Regions from separate parts of the Homo sapiens genome. Here all the other regions are linked to region 3. The links are contacts of gene promoters, found by promoter capture Hi-C in blood cells and fetal thymus (Javierre and others, 2016). All regions are on one chromosome and are shown on one strand. Each heading gives the region's core, a stretch centred on a gene start or on the middle of the fragment in contact. The rest is flanking DNA. Distances are from core to core; before and after follow the strand shown.

The links. Contacts are between HindIII fragments. The CHiCAGO score rates a contact against its expected background, and 5 or more counts as called.
Region 1: a contact is called between a fragment that was not itself captured here and the fragment with the promoter of ZNF620 in region 3, in 5 of 17 cell types (naive CD8 T cells, naive CD4 T cells, activated CD4 T cells and 2 more). The highest score is 7.3, in naive CD8 T cells.
Region 2: a fragment that was not itself captured here is called in contact with the fragment with the promoter of ZNF620 in region 3 in 14 of 17 cell types (naive B cells, M2 macrophages, M1 macrophages and 11 more); the score reaches 13.0 in naive B cells.
Region 4: a fragment that was not itself captured here is called in contact with the fragment with the promoter of ZNF620 in region 3 in 1 of 17 cell types (M1 macrophages); the score reaches 6.6 in M1 macrophages.

Annotation. Positions count from the first base shown.
Region 1 is chr3:41,895,237-41,897,936 of GRCh38, reverse strand. It overlaps ULK4 (unc-51 like kinase 4), which reads left to right. Exons shown (of 37, transcript NM_017886.4): 15 at 934-1,115; 16 at 2,373-2,419. Among named protein-coding and RNA genes, the nearest start is that of ULK4, 66 kb to the left of the region's middle. The HindIII fragment of the contact is 3,983 bases long and covers 1-2,700 here.
Region 2 is chr3:41,875,795-41,878,494 of GRCh38, reverse strand. All of the region lies in intron 17 of ULK4 (unc-51 like kinase 4), which reads left to right. Among named protein-coding and RNA genes, the nearest start is that of ULK4, 85 kb to the left of the region's middle. The HindIII fragment of the contact is 3,624 bases long and covers 1-2,700 here.
Region 3 is chr3:40,504,735-40,507,434 of GRCh38, reverse strand. It overlaps ZNF620 (zinc finger protein 620), which reads right to left and starts at 1,396. Exons shown (of 5, transcript NM_175888.4): 1 at 1,297-1,396; 2 at 1,059-1,131. The coding sequence starts at 1,082. The HindIII fragment of the contact is 1,073 bases long and covers 1,396-2,468 here.
Region 4 is chr3:41,922,033-41,924,732 of GRCh38, reverse strand. The region is part of intron 5 of ULK4 (unc-51 like kinase 4); the gene reads left to right. Among named protein-coding and RNA genes, the nearest start is that of ULK4, 39 kb to the left of the region's middle. The HindIII fragment of the contact is 5,614 bases long and covers 1-2,700 here.

The DNA of each region.
Region 1 (2,700 bases), core at 166-2,665, 1.4 Mb before region 3:
TTAGGGTGACCATCAGAAATTTTTACATACCTTAAATTGGTTTTTTCGTTTAACAAATTATATTTTAAGCTGTTAAACTCGATTTGGGGAAAATTATTCATCGTGGCTAGAGTAGAATCTATGATTTGAAGTAAATTTAAAATATATTTAGGTTTAAATAAACCAGCTAAGGGTTTATATTGGTCAACTTAATTACTGATAAAAACAAAAAAGAAACTGTGTAGAAGGACGTTTTTGAAAGGCCAAGTGAAGCAAAGTATTATTAATAGTGCTTTCAGTGCCAAGTAGGACTATTTACGCAAACCTAGAGAATTATCACCTGGAAATACTATTTCCCTTTTCTTCTTTGAGTTATTTAGGAGATTATATTTACAATTTATTTTGTCTAAAGATAGAGATCAGCCAAAAATATGTTAATTTTAGGGGGTATCACATTTCCTAGATTTTGCCTTTTTTTTGTATAGGGATTTGGAGGTAGGAATTTCAGGTGATTTTTAGCTATCATGTTATTCTCGTTATTTTTTTTACAATAATTTTATTGGAACTTTTTAAGAACTGTAGGATTTGTGCTTTTCTCAATATTTGAGAGTTGATTTATTTATACAAAGGCTCTTTTGTCTTTTACTCCAGTTGTATTGAACTTTGCATTTTGTTATAGTGTAGGTTGTGGGACAGTTCTGCTTTAGACATCTGCTTTATTTGAAAGTATAGTTTTCCATTGAAGTGGTTAAAAAGTTTCCGTGGATAGATAAAGAGATTAGGAATATAGAAGGACGAATAAAAATAGTGTCATCTTTGGAGTATTTTTGGTTTTGACAGTGTAATGTTTGTCCTCATCTTAGCTGTCGTAATTCTGTGTTTATTTCTTATGTAATGTTTCCAGCAGTTCTTTTTCTCATCATATGTACTTTTATTATTTTCTTTCCATCGCAGTGGATAAGTTATTATTTCTGAAAGATCAAGATTGGAATGACTTTTTGCAACAAGTGTGCTCGCAGATCGACTCCACTGAGAAGAGCATGGGGGCCTCCCGAGCCAAGCTGAATCTCCTTTGCTATTTGTGCGTGGTGGCTGGTCACCAGGAGGTGGCCACCAGGCTCCTCCATTCCCCCCTGGTAAGCCTGTGTGACATGCCTTATGCATTTTAATTTGTGTTTTTATAGAGGCTCAAACAAGTGCTAAAATAACAATTTGATTTAACTACCACAAAAAAACTGATTTATCACGATTTTAGGTTTATGAAAATTATCCTCTGCTTAATCCTTAGGTCCTAAAGTAGATGACAGTAGATGGTGATTTTGAACTTATTTTGTTTGTTTGTTTGTAATACTCAGGTTTCCATTTTATGTTAACTTGTAAGATTTAAAAAAAAATCTGAAATCAGGCTGGGCGTAGTGGCTCATGCCTGTAATCCCAGCACTTTGGGAGGCCAAGGTGGGTGGATCACCTGAGGTCAGGAGTTCGAAACCAGCCTGGCCAACATGGTGAAACCCTGTCTCTACTAAAAGTACAAAATTAGCTGGGTGTGGCAGTGCACTCCTGTAATCCCAGCTACTTGGGAGGCTGAGGCAGGAGAATCACTTGAACCCGGGAGGCAGAGGTTGCAGTGAGCTGAGATCGCACCACAGCACTCCAGCCTGGGCAAAAAAAGTGAAACTCCATCTCAAAAAATAAAAATAAAAAAAAAGTGATATCATAAGACAGACCTTTTACCTTCTCATTAGTGACTGGAATGAACTCCCCATGTGGAATGGGTCGGGGGTGTCGGTTCCTTTACTGGGTCATCTGGTAAACTGCAGGGTTTCTGATGTGACATTGAAGGAAGACATCAATCCTCTAAGACATTTTTTTCCTCTTCCCCTGGGAATATTACTTTTTGGACTGTCTTGGTCTGTTGGTAAGCTCAAGGGAATTTGTCAGAGTTTTTTTGGTTTTTGTTTCTTTTGGCTCATGTTTAAGCATCGATTGGCAGAGTTTTTGAAGTCATCCTCAGAGAGGAATTACAGTGGTTCGGAGGTGTTTTCTATAGTGGTCCCTCATTTGGGAATTGGCTTGAAAAAATTTAAGTTCATTTGCTTCCAGGATAGTATTAAGGTTACTTTTTTTGATAGTTGGTGTGTGTCTATCAGGTAAGGGCAGTCATTTAGCGAATATAAAGTGGTAGGAGAAACTAAAAATACTGTTCTTAGTTTTTATTTTAATCTTATTCGTATACTAGTGCCTTTGTAATTTAGTAAATACCATTTTTGGTGTACAGTGTAAATTTCCTTTGTATAAAGTCCTGAGCTGTTAACTTTGCTGTCATTTTCTGTGTTTTGTGACTTAAACATTTTAATTTTTTCTTTTCTTTACACTTAAATTTCTTATTCTAGTTCCAATTGCTAATCCAGCATTTGCGGATAGCTCCAAACTGGGATATGTAAGTAACGTTTATATTTTAAAAATTATTTTTCATGACTTTATTAAGTAGTTACAGAGCACATATTTATCAAAAGCAGAGTCCTAAATAATTATCATAAATTATTCTGATGTAATGATGACTCTACTCATAGGCAATTTTTATGGGCATTCCAATGATAAATTTTAGAATATTAAAAATAGCCCTTCTCCTAATATTACAAATACAATTCTGGGATTATCTAAGGTACTCCTGGAAACTTTATTAACTGTTATTGTTTTTTTATTTTCTTAGAGACAAGG
Region 2 (2,700 bases), core at 42-2,541, 1.4 Mb before region 3:
AAATGCTTGATTGTTCCTCTTCATAGGTCAGTTTTCAGAATAAAGAGTTGGTACCTGAGAAATCTCCGTGTCTAGTGAGATTGATTTTATATTGTTAAGAACTTACAGGTGTATATATGTATATGTATATCGTCTAGTCCTTTGCAGTCATTAGTCTTTTTGATGCTTACATTGTTTCATCTCCATCCAGTGGGAGCTCTTTCAAGTTTGCTCCTTTCTCCCTTTGACATGAGCCTACTCCTGTCTCTGACAGCTTGCTGGCTTCTCGGCAGTGAGCTTTCATAGGCTTGTTTCGGGAATAGTCAACCCCTAGTTTTGAAACCACTTCTATAAGGAATCTTGTTTACTTTGTTAGAAGATGTAGTTAGAGAACTCAATCTGGGTTCTCTAGGTTTTTTTTTTTTTTTTTTTTTCCTGGTAGAGCTTTTCAGAGGTTAGATCTAGGTACTATTGTTTCTTAAAAAGAGAAAAATTCACAGTTTATTCTGCTTTTCCAATTCAGATTTTTTTATTGAGACAGAGTTTTGCTCTTGTTGCCCAGGCTGGAGTGCGACGGCGCGATCTCGGCTCACCGCAACCTCTGCCTCCCGGGTTCAAGCGATTCTCCTGCCTTAGCCTCTTGAGTAGCTGAGATTACAGGCATGCACCATCATGCCCGACTAATTTTGTATTTTTAGTAGAGATGGGGTTTCACCATGTTGGCCAGGCTGGTCTCAAACTCCTGACCTCAGGTGATCCACCCACCTTGGCCTCCCAAAGTTCTGGGATTATAGCGGTGAGCCACCACGCCTGGCTCCAATTCAGATTTAAAATTCGTTTTTACCTTTTGATTTACAATTTTTATTTTTCTTCTCATAAGCTAAAATTCCTGGCTGGGGCGGTGGCTCATGCCTGTAATACCAGCACTTTGGGAGCTGAGGTGGGTGGATCACTTGAGTTCAGGCGTTCGAGACCAGCTTGGCCAACATGGCAAAACCCCATCTCTACTAAAAATACAAAAATTAGCCGAGCATAGTGATGCACGCCTGTAATCCTGGCTCCTTGGGAGGCTGGGGCATGAGAATTGCTTGAACCCAGGAGGCGGAGGCTGCTGGGATCGGACCACTGCGCTCCAGCCTAGGCAACAGAGCAAGACTCTGTCTCAAAAAAAAACACTCTTGGCCATTAATAACATTAACATAATTATCTTTTTTTTTAGCTTAGAGTTTAGAATAGTTTAAAAATAGTACACGTATTGTTACTAACAACAAAACTACAAAGTGCATTTTAAGTACTTTTTTTCCCTTGGGATATAACCCACTGGATGATATGTACAGTCAAAACGCTGAGTTTTAAAAGCAATTTATATAATTCTTCACTTTGTACTTTTGTCACCAATATGATATATAGTTACATATGTTTTCAATTTTTTTTAGATATTTAGAGATTACTTTGTACTTTCTTTCTGGTTTGAAAATTATAATTCTTTTTTATTGAAGTGTTGGAAATACATACAAAACATAAATGTATTGCTTAATGAATTATTGCCAAGTGTGAAAACCCAATAAACTGTCACTGGGTCAAGAAACAGAACATTAAGTAGAACATTGCCAGCATACCCGGGGATCCTCTTGTGCTCTCTCCTGATCACTGTTCTCTCCCTTTGTGCCAAAGGAAGTTACCGTAACTTCCAATTCTGTCATGATTTTGCCGGCTTTTGAATTTTGTTTAAATTGAGTCATATGATATGTATACTTTGGTATCTGGCTTCTTTTATTTCATATTATGTTTATGGAATTCATCCTTGTTGCCTGTACCTGTAGTTCATTTTTATTACATGAGTATACTACATCACTGGTGATGGGCATTTGGATTGTTTTCTGTATTTGGCTATTAAAAGCCTTGCACACACATTTTGATGCACTTGCGCAAGCTCTCTGTTGGATATGTGTAGGAATGGAATTGGTAGGTTACAGGATATGTGTGTGTTCAACTTTAGGGGGTAATCTAAACTGTTTTCCAGTAAGGTTGTATAAGTTAAAATGCTTTGACTAATGAAAGAATGTTCAGTGCTCTGTATTCTCATGAATACTTGGTGTTGGCATAAAATCATGTTAAATAAGTATTTACCAGTTTCCTCTTTGTTTTTAACATTAATGGTTATTGAGTTTGGTATGGCATCAGAAGATAGGAGTATTTAATTTTTCTTCCTATCTCTATTAATAGGTGGATTATATTAATGGAATTCCTAAAAATAAATCACCTTTGCATCATTATAAGAAACAACTTGGTGCTCTCTATAATTCACTGTTGGAGTCTCTTTCCTCATGTTTTTTTCTAGAATTGTTCCTCTATTTTTTCTTGCCACATTACATTGATTCTTGGAGAGTCCAGGCTGTTTGTCCTGTTGAATATTCCACATTCCAGATTTGTCTGCTTGCTTTTTTTGGTATTGCTAACTTATTCCTCTAGTCCACACATTTCCTATAAACTGTAGGTTAGGTCTGGACGCTTCATTAGATTTAGGTTGAACCTTTTTTTTTTTTTTTTGGTAAGAACATATCATAGGTGATACTGGGTACTTCATATTTGAACTCATCAGGAAGCATGCAGTGTCAGGTTTTAATAGTTGCACCTACTTTGATCATTTGATTAAAGTAGTGCTGCCAGAGAGCTCCATTGTAAAGGTACATCTTTTCCTTTGCAGTGCCACTTTAGCTC
Region 3 (2,700 bases), core at 147-2,646:
ATATTTGAAAGAAAAATCATGTAATTCACCACATTAACAAAGAGAGGCTGGGCACGGTGGCTCACGCCTGTAATCCCAGCACTTTGGGAAGCCAAGGTGGGGGAATCACGAGGTCAAGGGATCGAGACCATCCTGGCCAACATGGTGAAACCTGGTCTCTACTAAAAATACAAAAATTAGCTGGGTGTGGTGGCGCGTGCTTGTAGTCCCAGCTACTCGGGAGGCTGAGGCAGGAGAATCGCTTGAACCCCAGAGGTGGAGGGTGCAGTGAACCAGGATCGCGCCACTGCACTCCAGCCTGTCGATAGAGCAAGACTCCATCTCAAAAAAAAAAAAAAAAAAAAACCATATGGTCATCTAAATAGACACAGAAAAAGCAATTGTCAAAATCCAACATCCATTCCTATAAAAACTCTCACCAAAGTAGTACTAGAAGAGAATGCCTGATAAAGGACATTTACAAAACAAAACAAAACAAAAAAGCAAGAAACCTACAGTGAACATCAGTCTTCAGTGTGAAAGATTGAATGCTTTCACTTTAAAAGCATAAATAAGACAAAGATATCTGCTCTCACCACTTCTGTTCAATATTGAAATAATGCTTCTAGCCAGTGCAGTAAGGCAAGACAAAATAAAATAAAAGGCATCCAGACTGGAAAGAAAGGAGTAAAACTATCTTTACTCATAGATGACCTATGTAGAAAATACAATGGAATCTACAAAACAGTTACTAGAATTGCTATACTGAAGAAGTAAGTACTTCTCCAAGCCTGCGGACTAGGGTGAAAGGGGTCTTTATTGGATGTAATAATGCAGATTTCCACATTTCATAATTTTTATTTTTAAGCTGGCTTCAAATGCCAAATCCCAACCAATCCCCCCACACTCACTAGTTTTCTAGTCTTAATTTGGGCATTCTCACCTCTCCATCCCTCTCATAGTGACAGATGCACAATGGAAGCCACTGGCCTACACAACTCAAGATCTGAATGCAGAGGTGACACCTGCTCTCTCTTGACATCTAAAGGGTGGGAGGGAGGGAGAGGATGCTCACTCACCTGGCGCCAAGCGGTCTGGAACATGGCTGGCGTCCCAGCTTCACACACTGCCTCAGGGTTCGGAGAAGTGAAACTGAAGAGAAAATAAAGAAGCACCGGTGAGATTGATGCTGCCTCGCACCCCGCAAATGCCCTCTGTGCTACTTGGGCCCCTCTCCTTTCCGCCAACTCCTCACCCCAAAAAGCAAAGGGGTTGCAAAACCAGGCAGAACAAGCCCCAGGAAAACCAATCAGTTACCCGGACCGCGAACCTCTTCAGCTCGGACCGCGAATCCCGCGCGGCGCAGGCGCAGATAAAGCGTGGAAATTCCACCTGCCGCCGACACCGGGGAAAGCTTGAGACCCTCCGCCGGAAGTGCGTTTTCCATGCCCCTCCTCTCTAGGAACCTGGGAAGTTGCCAGTCTCTGTGGTTTCCTACCCCCGCCGTCAGCGCCAGTGTCCCTACTGCCTGAGACAACACGGGCCCGAGCGGGCGGCCCCAGGCAGGGGTCCTGCAGCGCCCACACCTGGTAGCTCCTTCGGGGCATGACGTCTGGCCAGCTCAGGCCACAGAATGGTTACTATCCTGGGTATTATTCGTGGTTATCTGGCATTTGCCACTCTGGGTGTCCTTCCAGATAATGAAGGGACCATCGCGCCCTTCACATGCGCCAAAACTGTCTGGATTGTGTGGGTGCGCTGCAGTGGGAAAAGTGGGTGTGGGGAAAGGCGAACCCATTACTCAGAAGGCCGAATGTGTATGGACTACGTAGGTCCAGAAACCCAGCTGCACCACTTGCTAGTTGTGTGACCTGCAGCAAGTTTCTTTGCCCCGGTTTCCTTGTCTATTAAATGGGTATTATGATGGTGGTACCAACCTCTTGAGGCTGTTCAGGGTTAATTCATTAAATTAGTTAATTGATAGGTAAATTATTTACAGTTGTGCCTGGCACATAGTATGTACTCGTGAGTTTGTATTGTTTTGTTTTCCAATTGTGTTTTTTGAAGACACAAAATAGGTGCTGCTGGGACTCCAATATGTGGCGTGCTTTAGGGAAATAGATTTTTTTAAGGACAATTTTCGAAGTTTAGCGAAAGAGCTATTAACATTTGGCTTAGAGCCCTTTCCTGCCCTGTACTGGGATGTGTGTCCCGGCCCAGCCTGGAAACAGATTTTAGTTATTCCTTCCACAGGAATTAGATTTATCCACCACTTTCAAAACAAGTCCTGCCATGGAGAGTATATTATGTATCTACTGCTGGATAATAAACTACTCTAATGCTTTGTGGCTAAAAACAATAAACATTGTTATCTTTTGACAGTTTCTGTGGACCCAGAATTCAAGAGCAGCTTGGCTGGGTGGTACTGGCTGAGGGTCTCTGCTGAGGTTGCAGTCAGGTGTCATGTGGGGCTGAAGTCATCTGAAGCTTGACTGAGTTTGGAGGATCCACCTCCAAGGTGGTTTACTCACATGGCTGTCAAGTGGGTGCTGGTTGTTGGCAGGAAGCGTCAGTTCCTTCCCATGTGAGGGTTTTCACAACATGGCATGTAGCTTTCTCCCAAAGTGAGCAATCCAAGAGGCCAAGGCCAAAGCTTTTATGACCTAGTTTTGGAAATCATGCATCATGATTTCCTCAATACATTCTCCTCAGATTAGTCAT
Region 4 (2,700 bases), core at 154-2,653, 1.4 Mb before region 3:
TTGTATATGGTAAGATTTCATGCCCAAGAAGAAGGCTTTTAATGTCCTTAAATTGCATTCCATAGAATTATCAGTATTCTTTGAAAATGACTGTTGTGGTCTATGTTAGTAGGATATGAAGTTCTGAATTATTGTGTATAATTTTATAGAAAACAAGGTCAATGGTATATTTCAGTATAAATGCATATTTAGTAAGGGGAAGAGAGCTGTGTTTTGGAAAAATAGGTCAGACATTCTAGCAGTGATGCTTACTTCTGAACTTAATCTAAGAACAGTCTCTATGACAGGGCAGGTTAGTCTGTTTGGCCAGGGGAGAGGACGCTTTCGTAACCAGCAGGGCAGAATCAGCCCTGACCTTTTGGGATCGTGTACTTCATAGGTGGTTAACTTTTACATCCCTGTGGCATTAAGATAAAAATAGAGTGTAAAACCACTTCTGTTTTCCTGGAGACTTTGAGAATTCACTGTCTAAGTATGGCGATGAGCAAGGCACATGAAAAAAATCACCCTACCTTTTGACATATTTGAGTAGGTGGGTACTGGGGTGGGGTTGATGATTGGTCAGTGGTGGTATACAGCCATAAAGAATCTGTTAACATTGATGCTGATTTTAGGGCAAAAATTTTGGTTAGGCTGCATAAAAATAATATCGAAAAGAGCTTCTAATAAGGACATCTGGATTCTGGTTCTGCCTTTGCTTCTTTGTAACCTTCAGAGTAGTGTCACATAGCTGCTAGGAGTTTTAATTTCCTGTGTAAAGATAGGGGTTGGCTGGATCATAGTTCCCAAATTCAGGGACAGAAAAGTTATATAAATCAATAATGTGGCCTAGTGTAAGAGGGATTAATGGGGGTTATGTCAAACTACGCTCAGTTTTGGCCCAGTGTTGTTGATTGATTTAGAGAAATTAGAAATCTGGGCTGATTTATGAAAAGAGTTTCAAATTTAGAATCCTCTACCTACAGGTTAGGGTTCAGGTTCCACGGTCTGGTCCCTGATTGCCTCTCTGTTCTTGTGGCCAGAAGATTGTGCTTCACTGTCCTTCAATTGCAGGTACAACTGACCAAGGCCTCCAACTACTTGAAGAAATTCATCAGTGCTTTTGCTCTGAGGCCATGCTTCTCATGACTGCACCCAGCTAATGACTGAGCTTGGAGGGGATGCTAAGGCAGGCCTGTTCCTAGGAGACACTCTGGTGGCTGACATTGGTTCAGGGATTCTTTTTTGTTTGTTTTGAGATGAGCTCTTGCTCTGTTGCCCAGGCTGGAGTGCAGTGGCGTGATCTCAGCTCACTGCAACCTCTGTCTCCGGGTTCAAGCAATTCTCTGGTCTCAGTCTCCCAAGTAGCTGGAATTACAGGAGCACACCACCATGCCCAGCTAATTTTTGTATTTTTAGTAGAGATGGGGTTTCACCATGTTGGCCAGGCTGGTCTTGAACTCCTGACCTCAAATGATCTGCCCACCTCAGCCTCCCAAAGTGTTGGGATTACAGACATGAGCCACTGTGCCCAGCCTGGTTCAGGGATTCTTATTTTTTTTATTATTTATTTATTTATTTTTTTGAGACAGAGTCTTGCTCTTGTTGCTCAGGGTGGAGTGCAATGGTGTGATCTCGGCTCAGTGCAACCTCTGCCTCCCAGGTTCAAACAATTCTCCTGCCTCCCGAGTAGCTGGGCTTACAGGTGCCTGCCACCATGCCTGACTAATTTTTTTGTATTTTTAATAGAGACGGGGTTTCACTATGTTGGCCAGGCTAGTCTCGAACTCCTGACCTTGGGTGATTTGCCCACCCCGGCCTCCCAAAGTGCTGGCATTACAAGTGTGAGGCACCGCACCTGGCCTGGTTCAGGGATTCTTGATGATCCTGAAGAACCTTTCTTAAGACTGCATGGCATCTATCTAAGGATGCTTTCATCTAATCTTCTTTCCCTTTCTCTTTGCATGGAGTCCATCGTACATTGCAATCTGACCAGATTTTCCCATTTTTTTCTCATAGACGCTTCCTGTAATAAAATCCTTGTGTGGATAATTCTGTCTTGGTGTCTGCTTCTTGGGGGACCCAGACTAACAGTTCTCACCCCATCTCTCCCCTCACCCCCCACCTTGCCACCCCCCTCACCCCTTAACCCCACCTTTGGCTTTGTGTTCCAGCAACACCCTGTCTTCACGATTTCCTGCACTTGTTGTGTAGCTGCTCACACCCATGCCCTTACTCTTTCGGTTCTTGTTTCTTTCTCTTTCCTTCCATACTCTCCCCTCCCTTCCCTTTCCTTCGTCTTGCAGTGGCATGATCATATCTCACTGTAACCTTGAGCTCCTGGACTGAAGCGATTCCCCCACCTCAGTCTCCTGAGTAGCTAGGACTGCAGATGTATACCACCATGCCTGGCAAAGTTTTAAATTTTTTTGTAAACTGGGTTTTGCTGTGCTGTCCAGGCTGGTGTCGAACTCCAGGCCTCAAGTGATCCTCCTGTCTTGGCCCTCCAAGTAGCTAGGAGTACAGGCTTGTGCCACCACACCTAACCCTTTCTTATTTTATTTTTTCAGCTTTCTTATTTTATTTTTAACTATTTTATTTGCGATGGAGTCTTGCTCTGTTGCCTAGGCTGGAGTGCAGTGGTGTGATCTTGGCTCACTGCAAGCTCCGCCTCCTGGGTTCATGCCATTCTCCTGCCTCAGCCTCCGGAGTAGCTGGGAT